2 separate regions of the Homo sapiens genome follow, and region 1 is linked to region 2. Evidence: promoter capture Hi-C in human tissues and cell types (Jung and others, 2019). All regions are on one chromosome and are shown on one strand. Each heading gives the region's core, a stretch centred on a gene start or on the middle of the fragment in contact. The rest is flanking DNA. Distances are from core to core; before and after follow the strand shown.

Region 1 (5,087 bases), core at 2,177-4,676, 48 kb after region 2:
TGAAAGAGAAGACATGTAAAGTGCTTAGCACAGGGTGCAGGATAGCACAGATCATCAATAAATAGTCATGATGAGGATAATGATGAGAAGCAGAACTGGGACCTGTGTCCCCTACTTGGTGTGGCCGAATGTAGACTGTGTGTACCTTTGTGTTTCTGGTTGGAGCCACCTGCTGTCACTTGTACTCTGCATCAGCTCTAGACCCCTCCTTCCATGTCAGACCTTGTATTTTTACATGAATGTGATATATATATATGAGAAAAGATCAGTCTATGTTGCTTAGAGCTAACTCACTAGCAATTGGCCCTTTCATATCTTGATTTGTTGCAAATGTGAGTTACTGTTTAGAGTAGTTTTGAAATTGAGCAGATGCTGTTGAGTTGATATATTCTGTGATTGGTACCACAAGGTAGAAGAATCTATGTTATTATAGAAAATACAAAATTTGAGACACCACTGTAGTTCTGACAGAAGGCTTGTTTTGCTCAGAGAATGCCCTTTTAAAAATTCTGATGAGATTGACATGTGACACAAGAATGGCAGAATGTTGATAAGGGGTTGAAGCTGGGTAAACGGTTTGTGGGGGTTCTTTATACTGTTCTCTTTACTTACGTGTTCGTTGGAAAATTTCCACGATGAAAATTTTCATATTTAAACAAATGCTGGGATGGTTGCCTTCCTGTTGAAATATTTGGAAGTCCAGGCATATTTTAGTTCCATGTCTGGACTTCATGTGGCCATCTTTTAGGTGTAATTTAATGTAGCATGCCATTATTTGTAGGATAAGATTATTTTAAAGGGTGAAAAAGGTGAAAGCTAAATTCAAAAGAAATGTGTGAAAGTTATCTCAGTGCAAAGAGATGAAGCTTAGAAAAAAATCTCTCAGGCTAGCTGCTACTTCACTATCCCCTGGTTTAAGGATTATGTAAATGAAATCTTCTGTGTATCCACAGCTATGCATACATTTATACTTAATGTTCCCATCAGAAGAAGTAATCAGTGCTGAAGCATTATTGAGATTTAGAAATTCTACCATATACCACACTCAAATGGTGAAAAATGTTTCAAAAATAGCCCTTGCTGCATTTAAATAGCCTATTAAGAGTAGACAGGAAAATTCCACTGGCACGGTGGACCGTGAGGCTATTGGACAGATCCATGTATTAAAAGCTTAGGCTAAATTTGGCTCTGTGGTGTGTAAAATAACAGCAGAACCTAGTATAAAGCACTTTTTCTGCATTGTTTCCTCAAAGATCCATATGTGTAAAGGGAATGTATTTTTCTTAAGCCAGGCTTGTGTCGTCAGGACCTGGTACTACAGATGACTTGAGCGCGGCTGTCACCATCAAATGACAGCATCTTCTTACTTTGCAAAAGCCCCTGTGAGTGCCCTAGTTAGCAGAGTTTATGCATCTCCACTCCCCACTAGCTGGGAGCTAGTGGCCAAGTCATATTCCCTACTGTATGTCCTGCCAACTGGAGAAAGGATACTTGTTCCCTTCTTTCTCAGAGTAATGGCTAAGGGCATCCACCTCGAGTCAGACCTGAGTCTGGCACTGCCTCCTAATAGTTTTGAAACACATGGCCTTGTAGATTCTCAGAATCCTCACTGTAAAAATGGAATAATAGTGGTATCTATGCCATGGGGTTCTTGTGAGGGGAAATGAGATACTTCTTACTTAACTGGCACCCCGTAAATAAACAGTTGTGTGAATTGTGATGATGATTATGATGATGAATCATGGACTGAGAAGTCTGAGGGTTGGAACATGTAGCTTGCTGTTTCCCAAGGTTGGAAATTGCCACCTTTCTTGGTTGTCATGGAGAATTCAGAGATGAACTTTGTAATTCTTACTCAGAAGGGATAGGAAATTTTTGTTTAAAGCTTGAAGCACGTGGGAGAAATGTAGACCTGATGGCTATTTGAAATACACATATGCCCTTGCACACTGGATTCAAGCCCGATATTTACATAATGGCCATTTTATTTAGGTAGAAGTTGCAAGATTTCAGCTCCATCTGCTCAGGTCTCTGCTGAGGCAGTGATGGAATCAGGCCGTGTGCCCCGGAGAGTGCAGAGGGAAAATTTCCAGGAAGGCTGATGCCTGGGAATGTTGATTCCCTAGTTCTCTCGTCAGAAACTGGCCTTCCAAATCTCTAGGAGGTTCTTTTCCTTTTCTGCCACATGACGTGATTCATGATCATATGCCAAGAGTGACCTACCAGTTCAGGAATGGCATATCTCTGCAGGGAGCTTTGATTTTTGGCAGAATAACTGCCTTCAGGGGACATCCCCTCATGGACGGCATTGTCAGAAAAGGACGGTGTTAGGTGGTAGTAAATGACTAACCTCACTGCGGCGACATCTCATGAACATGACCACATCTTGAATGATATTCAGGCCTCAAAGCAATGACAGCCATGCAGCAGTGCCACATTTCTTACTAAACGAAACCATATCCTACTAAAACTTCCTACTACCAGGGCTCCTTGCAGAAATAGCTGATTCTAGGTGTGGGTAGGAAATGTATAAGATGCATCTGGAATAGCTTGTTATCCCCTGAAGCAAGGAGGCTGTCAAAGACTACCTGGAGTCACTTCAAAAGGACACAGAGGCCAACATGAAGGTGCTCCCAGTAGCCTGAAATGCTGCAATAAGAGCATGAAAGGACAATGACTAAAATGAATTGAAACAAGTCAAATATATAAAAACAAATGGGCTCTTAATGACCTTATTTTTTTAAAAAAAGAAATGCACATGTAAAAATAAACTGGTTATAAGCAAGTCTTTTCCATGGATTTAGATTGTTGCTAATCAAATTCTAAACCCCGGAAACACATGACCATCCTGTCTCTCTCTAACCCTGTCATTATAGAGCAGAACTCAGTAAGTTCAGAGATGTGTCAATGGCAATGGTAGTAGCAGGGTTCTTTAGGGATATTTTTCAAGAGTTGTTACTCACTGGAAGGAAGATTATAGGACTTGGTGGGTAGTAAGCAGTGCAGGGGCTTCTGGCCCCCCTCACTCTGCCTCCAGGGCACCCAGTGCATGGCTGACACAGCTTTATCCCTCTCTATTGCAGTTTTGTTCAGAATTTGTTTCCCTAGTGGACTGTGAGCTTCCCTGGGGGCAGGGGCTCTGCTTTATTTTCTTTAGTATTCTTATTGTCCACCACAGTGCCTGGCACACAATAGCATTTAGGAAATAAATACCTGATAGAATATGTCTATCCTGTACAGAGGGGTTCATCCTCAAAATGAATGCAGAAGGCTTCACTATGAATGTCTACATGTAAGTATTGTCTCAATAAATCCTTTATTCTCTCTTGCTTTGAACAAGTGTTTTCATATTATTATTTCAAGTTTAAGTATTAAAAGGTGTGTGGCTTGTGCTTAGTTACTGAAATACTAAAAAAAATTCACTATTTATTGAATAGCTACTTTTCGCTAGGCTTTCTATTAGGTTCTTTGTATAGCATATTTTATTTGATTGTCACGAACTTATGAAATCTCTACTTGAAAGATTGAAGAATAAAGTCTCAGAGGTGTCAAGTATGTTGCCAAAGTCACTGAACTAGGAAGTGGGCAAGCCCAGGTCTGTTGATTTCTAAAGTTATCTGTTCTTTTTACTACACAGAGATACAGAAATGTAATCTTGGGCTCTTCATATGTTTTGAGTGAAAGGGAGCTCTGATGCATATTATCCTTGAAAATGAATAAGCGGGATGGTGGTGATTCTTTTAACCTTAATCTTTTATTAAAATAATTCCCTATTCCCATCAGTAATAAACCATGAGATTGTCAATACATTGTTGACTCTTATGTGTGGTGAACCATTCTAAACTAAATTTCCCCTTAGACAAAAATATAATAATGCTAAAGAGAATTTGAATCTATGGACCAAATTGTGCTTGAGTGAAGGATGGTCTTATTCATTTTGACATCCGGCCCTGAATAAATAAGGTTGTTTCAGGCTAGAGCTTTTCAGACAGTCACATATTGCACTGAATAGAATCAGCTTTTGACTAGGACCCTGTGCGTCCCCGATGTGACTTCTGAGGCTAAAGCTTTGCTATAAGTATATGCATGCATGTCTGTCTGTCTACTCAGCCATTCTCAAACTTTTTGATCTCAGGACCTCTTTACAACTCTTAAAAACACCTCCAAAGAATTGTAGTTTATTTTGGTTATATTCATTAGTATTTCCCATATTAGAAATTAAAAACATTTAAAACATAATACACAAGCACACATCTCATTAGCTGTCAGTACAGGATGTCATCTATATGTCATGGAATCTTTGAACAACTCTGCCATAAACTTATGAAAGAATAAGAGTAGTTTTGACTCTGTTGATGCATGGAAAGCTCTTGGGAACCCCTCAGGGGTGCCTGGACATGATCTAATAATTCCTGATCTATATGCTTTTTTATTTCTCCTCTTCTATCTTGAACCCACCCTAGTCAGGCTTTCTACATGACCATGGCACTTAAACTGCTGTCAAGGTCATCAGTGACCTCCACCTTGTTTAATTAAGTGGTCACTTCTCCATCTCTTAGAATTATTTGGCACAATATATCATTTACCCATCCTTGAACTATTTTCTTCATTTGGCTTCCAGGGTACTAGACTCAATTCCTTTTTAGCTGGTTCCTTTTTATCTCTTTGACTTCTTAATGTTGGAGTTTCCCATGGCTCAGGCTTCGGGCTTCTTTTCTTTTTTTAATCTATGTTATTCACTCTGTGGGGACATCATTCAACCTCATGTTTTTATATACCAGGCATGTATTTCCAGCCTCAGCCTCTCTTCTGAACTTGAGATCTGTGTATCCAGCTGCCTACTTGACATCTCTTCTTAGGCATCTAATAGCATCTCAAACTTAGTGCATGAAAAAATGAGCACCCCATCTCCGTCTTCTGCAAACCTCTTCCCCCTATAGTCGTTTTCACCTCAGCAAATCCCATCTTTCAGGTTGCTCAGTCCAGAAACATGGAGTCATTCTCGAGGCCTTCTTTCATGCTTCTCATCTCGTCCATCAGCCAAGCTCATCTGCATCAAATTCTAAAATAGATGTAGAATGCTACCA
Region 2 (5,398 bases), core at 2,576-5,075:
AGGGATTGGATGGATTGTATTTTTCCTTGACTGAAGGGGGAGAAAAATGGATAGCCAATACTAGGAAGAGGTACAAGCCATCAAGAAATTGTGGACATGTCCTATGGTTGGAGAATGAAGGAAGTATGCATGAAAGCATGGCCCTACCACTTTGGAGTTGAATGATCCTGCTGAGATCATCTTGTCCTGTAGACCCCCCTCCTTTGGCAGCGTAGTGTTGCAGTTCTGCAGAGGGCCCTTAGAGAGTGTGGGGAGTAAACAGTGGCCTAATGGGTGGGGCTCTGGGAACCCAACACTTTCTGCAACCAGAGAGGCCCATCTGATTAATATATTTGGGTTTTACATAACATTTTGTGTGAAGAAAAACTCTGCTGTATGGAATAACAATGTTTAAAGTCATTGTAGTTGGGACCTTCACTCCCCCACAACCTCTGTTTCAGCAGCATTATTAAAGAATGGAAATAAATAAAGATCTACAAAGCTACACATTGGCACATGTTTCAGGGGTCTCTTTTACCTGCATTATCAGGTTTGGCAAACTAGATTCATCCACTCTGTGAGCATCTGTGCAAATCCAACATGCCAGTTTTAGGTTTCTAAAGATACATTGGGGAAGAATTCATGAATCCTAGCTCAGGGTTCTTAAGGAGTGGGTACGTCCCCACTCTAGCATGCCAGGCATCATCGTATCTTGCATGATGGATGCTCATGAGCTATTCTCATGCATACATGCATTTTCCAACAAATATTTACAGAACAGCTACTAAATACCAGCTAAAGTGCTTAGTCAATATTCCAGAATGGCTAGAATGAGCCACCTGGCAACCTGAAAGTGGACACCGATTTACCTTTCTGTTGGAGTGAAATGTTTTGATAACAGTTTGCATGTAACAACTTTTTAATATGCTCAGCATGTATTCCAAATAGAATTATTAAGAAATGACAAGCCTCCCTTTTCCACCTATGTTACAGAACTAGATTTGGGCATCTGAATAATAAGAAAAATTAATAATTTGCAATTTTATTTTAAAATATATTTATTGAGTTCCAAAAATGTGGTTGGGTGGGGTGGGAATAATTACGGGACAGACAAAAGCTGGTACTTTGGTGACTGAGGGCTTGAGCTCTAAGGAAGCAGAAAAAAGTAAATCTGGTACTCGGAACTCCTGTCCCTTGCCTGACAGAGGGAGGGCAGTGATGTCTGCAGAGGGAGCTGTATCTAAAACCAGTGTAGGTGGCTCTGGGGCTCACAGTGCAAGAGTGACTATGGATTGATATTCTCTAGAACACTTCTGGTGTATTCCAGCATTCTGAGACTTGTATCCTCATAGTCAAGATCCCAAGGTAGAGCTGAGATTCTGAACCCTGTATCAGTCAGGGTTCTCTAGAAGGACAGAACTGATGGAACACATATATATATGTGTGTTTTTAAGTATTAACTCACACGATTACAAGGTCCCACGATAGGCTGTCTGCAGGCTGAGAAGCAAGGAGAGCCAGTCCGAGTTCCAAAACTCCAAAACAAGAAATTCAAGTCTGATGTTCGAGGGCAGGAAGCATCTAGCACGGGAGAAAAATGTAGGCTGGGAGGCCAGGCCAGTCTCTCTTTTCACATTTTTCTGCCTGCTTATATTCTAGGCACGCTGGCAGCTGATTAGATGGTGCCCACCCAGATTAAGGGTGGGTCTGCCTTTCTAAGCCCACTGACTCAAATGTTAATCTCCTTCGGCAACACCCTCATAGACATACCCAGGATCAATACTTTGTATCCTTCAATTCAATCAAGTTGACACTCAGTATAACCATTACAGCCCCAAAGGCCCCTGTTTGAGGGAGGTGACTCAAATTCCTGGTTTCTGAGCATAGCCTTTTTCATTGAATGTTGACCAAGTGGTGGATTTTTTTTTATCTCTCTGAAATAAACCTCTGTTTACTTGGAGTGTTATAAGTAGGACTCATCCAAATTTGCTCAGAACTTTCCCACTGTTAGCACTAAGAGTCCTGTGTCCTGGAAATTCCTTAATTCCTAAGGAAACTGGGGCAGATATTTATCCTAGGGAAATAAGAGCCAAGCACATAGACCAGGTGTTCCAGGTACCTACTGTTTTATAATAAAGCATTATAAAAGTGATCGACTCATAAAAACTGTTTTGTTTGCTCACATTCTGCACTCTGGCTGGGATTAGCTGAGTGGTTCTTCTGCTGGTCTTGCTGATGGTTGCTTGTGTGGCTGCAGCCAGCCAGTGAACTGATTGGAGAATGGGCTCAGCTGGGACATCTTGGCTGCTCTCTCTCTCTCTCTCTCTCTCTGCGTAATCTCAGGGCCTCTCCCTTTCTGTATGGCCTCTCCTTGTTATTTTATTTTATTTTATTTTTGCAGCAGGGTAGCTGAATTAGCTGAATTTCCTATATGGTGTCACAGGAATCCCCAGAGGGCAAAACTTGCCTGGTTTCTAGGTTGGGTGGGTGGGGGGGGGACTGGAATTACCATGGCGTCACTTTCACCACATCTTATTGATTAAAGCTGGCCATAGCATCATTCTAGAATCAAGGTGAGGGGACTACAGGGTGACACAAGAGTGAACACCAGGTGGCAGCTCGCTGAGGTCTACCAATGTAACAGTTTCCCCCAGAGGTACAGTAGGATGCTCACCTGGACTCATAGGATTCACTGTGAGTGACCACTTCTGACCTCTGTTTGCAGGGCACCACCTGACTTCTTCTCCTCACACTCTCAGTGAGAATGGAATATGAATAGTTTGACCACTGGTCAGAGCCAACAAGAGCTCTAGGTGTAGGGCAGGTTTATCCCTATTATTCGTACTTCTCCCAAGCATTAATAAGAATAATAGGGATGGTGAGTCCCTGTTAAGGTTGCCAAAAGGTTTCCAAGGAAGCAACAAGTTAGGGGGGACTGGGTCTTCCATGGTTGATGCGAAGCTATAAGGGACTTGACTGTTCCATGCACCATTTCTTGAAGAGTAGTCTATTCTAAGGTTTCTGCCCAGCACAGGAATTTTGGAGATGACCAAAACACATCGCCTGTCTTCCGGAAGCTGACCTTTCTCAACGCGGACCTCCCCGCCCTGCTAACTCTTGTTTTAAAGTTTAAACAAGTGTCAGCGATGGTCTCTCCCCGCTTTGCTCTCCACACGCCTCTCTCCTGCAGCTCTGACTTCGTTGGTTTCCCAGCCAGGGCCCCTCACTGGGCTGTGAGCCTCCTGAGGGTAGGGCGACCTCCATACCTTCTTCTGCAACACCCAGGGTGTATGGAGGGGCCTCTGTTAGCTGGAAACTTTTGGGAGCAGCAAGGGACCAGCCCCATCAGCTCCACTTCAGAGCAGTTCCAATCCAGCTGGCTTCCACATCCCTAGGGTTCTTCCCTTTTTTGTCTCCCCTATTTCTTTTTTTGCTGGAAAGAATCAGGTCCCCTCACTCTCCCCAAATACAAACTGCATTAAAAGAACCCCCGAGCTGCCCCTGGGCCCAGGGACTTCTGCTAGGCTTGGTTCCCTTTCTCCTCTCGAAACTCTTCTATCATCGAGGAGACAATCTGGCTTCTGGCTTTTCCCTCTCTTTTTCTTGGCCTCTTTCTCTTTCTTCCCCCGCCCCTTCTCCCCATGTCACAGCCAGTCCCGACGCATCCCGCCCCCGCTCTGTCGCTTTAAGCTGGTCCCGCCGCCGCGCCCCGCCCTCACCCCTCCGCGCTCCGCGGCTCCCCGCCGCTTCTCCCGCTCCTCCCTTGCTCGGCCCTCTCCTCCTCCTCCCGCTCCTCCTCCCGCTCCTCCGCGCCGCCGCCAGCCCCGCTGCGCGCTCTGCTCTTCGCAGCTCCCCGGACCCGCAGCCATGGCCGACATCAAGACGGGCATCTTCGCCAAGAACGTCCAGAAGCGACTCAACCGCGCGCAGGAAAAGGTCAGCGGCGGGCGGCCGGGGCTGGGGCCGGGGACGCCAGGCGGGGGCTTGGCCGGAGGGCACCGGCTGCAGCTGTGCGGGGCCCGAGCCTCGGGGTGCGGCGCGCTGCGGAGCGGGGCCGGGGCCAGGGACGCTGGGACGCCCTGCCCTCAGCTCGGTGACTGCCGCAAGGCGCGACCCGGGCGCCGCGGGGAGCGGGTCGGGAGGACGCAGCGCCGGGGACCCGCAGACCCTGGCCCCGGAGACGCCGGATATGTCCAGCTCCGGAGCCGGCCCCGGGTTGCCGCTCTCCTGGCCCCAAGCCAGGCAACAGAAGTAGGAGGTGCGGCAGCTTGCCCGCTGCGCCCGGAGCAGAGCGCATCTCCCTGCGCTCGCATCTCCCCGGGCCGGCTCCCAGCGCGCCCGCAGGCAGCTCGCGGGGACGCGGCCCGCAGATCGGGGCGGGAGATTGCAGCAGCCTTCCTTCTTGCGGGGGATTTTGTGGCTACTTAAGTGCAGCAGACACGAACGATTTAACAGAGAAGCCACCAAAAATCTCCCAGGACCAATAGGGTAGGATCGTGATCACACAGTGCTGTCTGGTGAGTTCTGGAGTTCAAAACAGAGATCTAGATATACACACTTTTAATTTTGGTCTATATGTTTGTGTCCCTTTTGACTCCAGTGTCCTTCTTTAGAAGGTCAAAAATAAATATGACCTGAACCTAATAGTTCCTTTCTGCATATTTCTGCACAAAGAAGGACCTTTTATTGCATTTTAAAAAATCCAGATTGCACAAATTGGGTTCTCTGTTGTTTTGCAAGTCCCTCAGTAAATTGCGCACAGTAATTTATTTTTTTTCCCCAGAGACGTGCATGAATGAAACCCAGGTCCGTAGCAAGCACAGCCCAAAGCAGGTGGAGGGGAGTTGTACCAGGCACCAGGCTTGCCTGGCTTCCCTGGTGACTGCTGTATATGACGGCCCTGAGGTCTTCATTTGTGTCCTGAGCAAAGGACATTTCCTTTATATTGTAGCTTGAGCATTGTACTTGAAAATCAACACCGGCTAATGAGCCCCATGATTGGTATCACTTGAACTGTGTTCTCTTTCACGTGGCAGTATTTTCCGTCCCTAGGATATGGGGTGTTTAGCGTTTTCCTGTTTTACTGGAAGTCAGATTTGCCATGTTGCTCAGGATGGCAATGAATTTCCCTCTTCAGACCCAATCTCAATCTCAGGCTGCCTCCCAGTTCCGGCTGACCATGAGTTGCTGAGCAGAGGGGGCACTGATCCCTTTTGTCCCCAGGCCCAGAGGCTTGGTGGCTGCCTCTAGTCCCTCCCTCCACACATGCACACTCTCCATGCAGTAAGAGGATTGTATTTCTTTTAATATCTACCCAAGCTCATCCTGAACTAAAGTGATCCTCCTCCTGCCTCTCCCTCCGCAGCTGAATTAGCAAGGCTGCCTGCTGCCTTCCAGGCCCGGGTTACTTGTGCAGAAA

The links. Contacts are between HindIII fragments. The study calls those that stand out against the background at their distance.
Region 1: a fragment that was not itself captured here is called in contact with the fragment with the promoter of AMPH in region 2 in 2 of the 25 tissues and cell types used here (dorsolateral prefrontal cortex and thymus).

Annotation. Positions count from the first base shown.
Region 1 is chr7:38,581,733-38,586,819 of GRCh38, reverse strand. The region is part of intron 1 of AMPH (amphiphysin); the gene reads left to right. Among named protein-coding and RNA genes, the nearest start is that of AMPH, 47 kb to the left of the region's middle. The HindIII fragment of the contact is 3,796 bases long and covers 1,529-5,087 here.
Region 2 is chr7:38,629,800-38,635,197 of GRCh38, reverse strand. It overlaps AMPH (amphiphysin), which reads left to right and starts at 3,825. Exons shown (of 21, transcript NM_001635.4): 1 at 3,825-3,915. The coding sequence starts at 3,847. The HindIII fragment of the contact is 11,600 bases long and covers 1-5,398 here.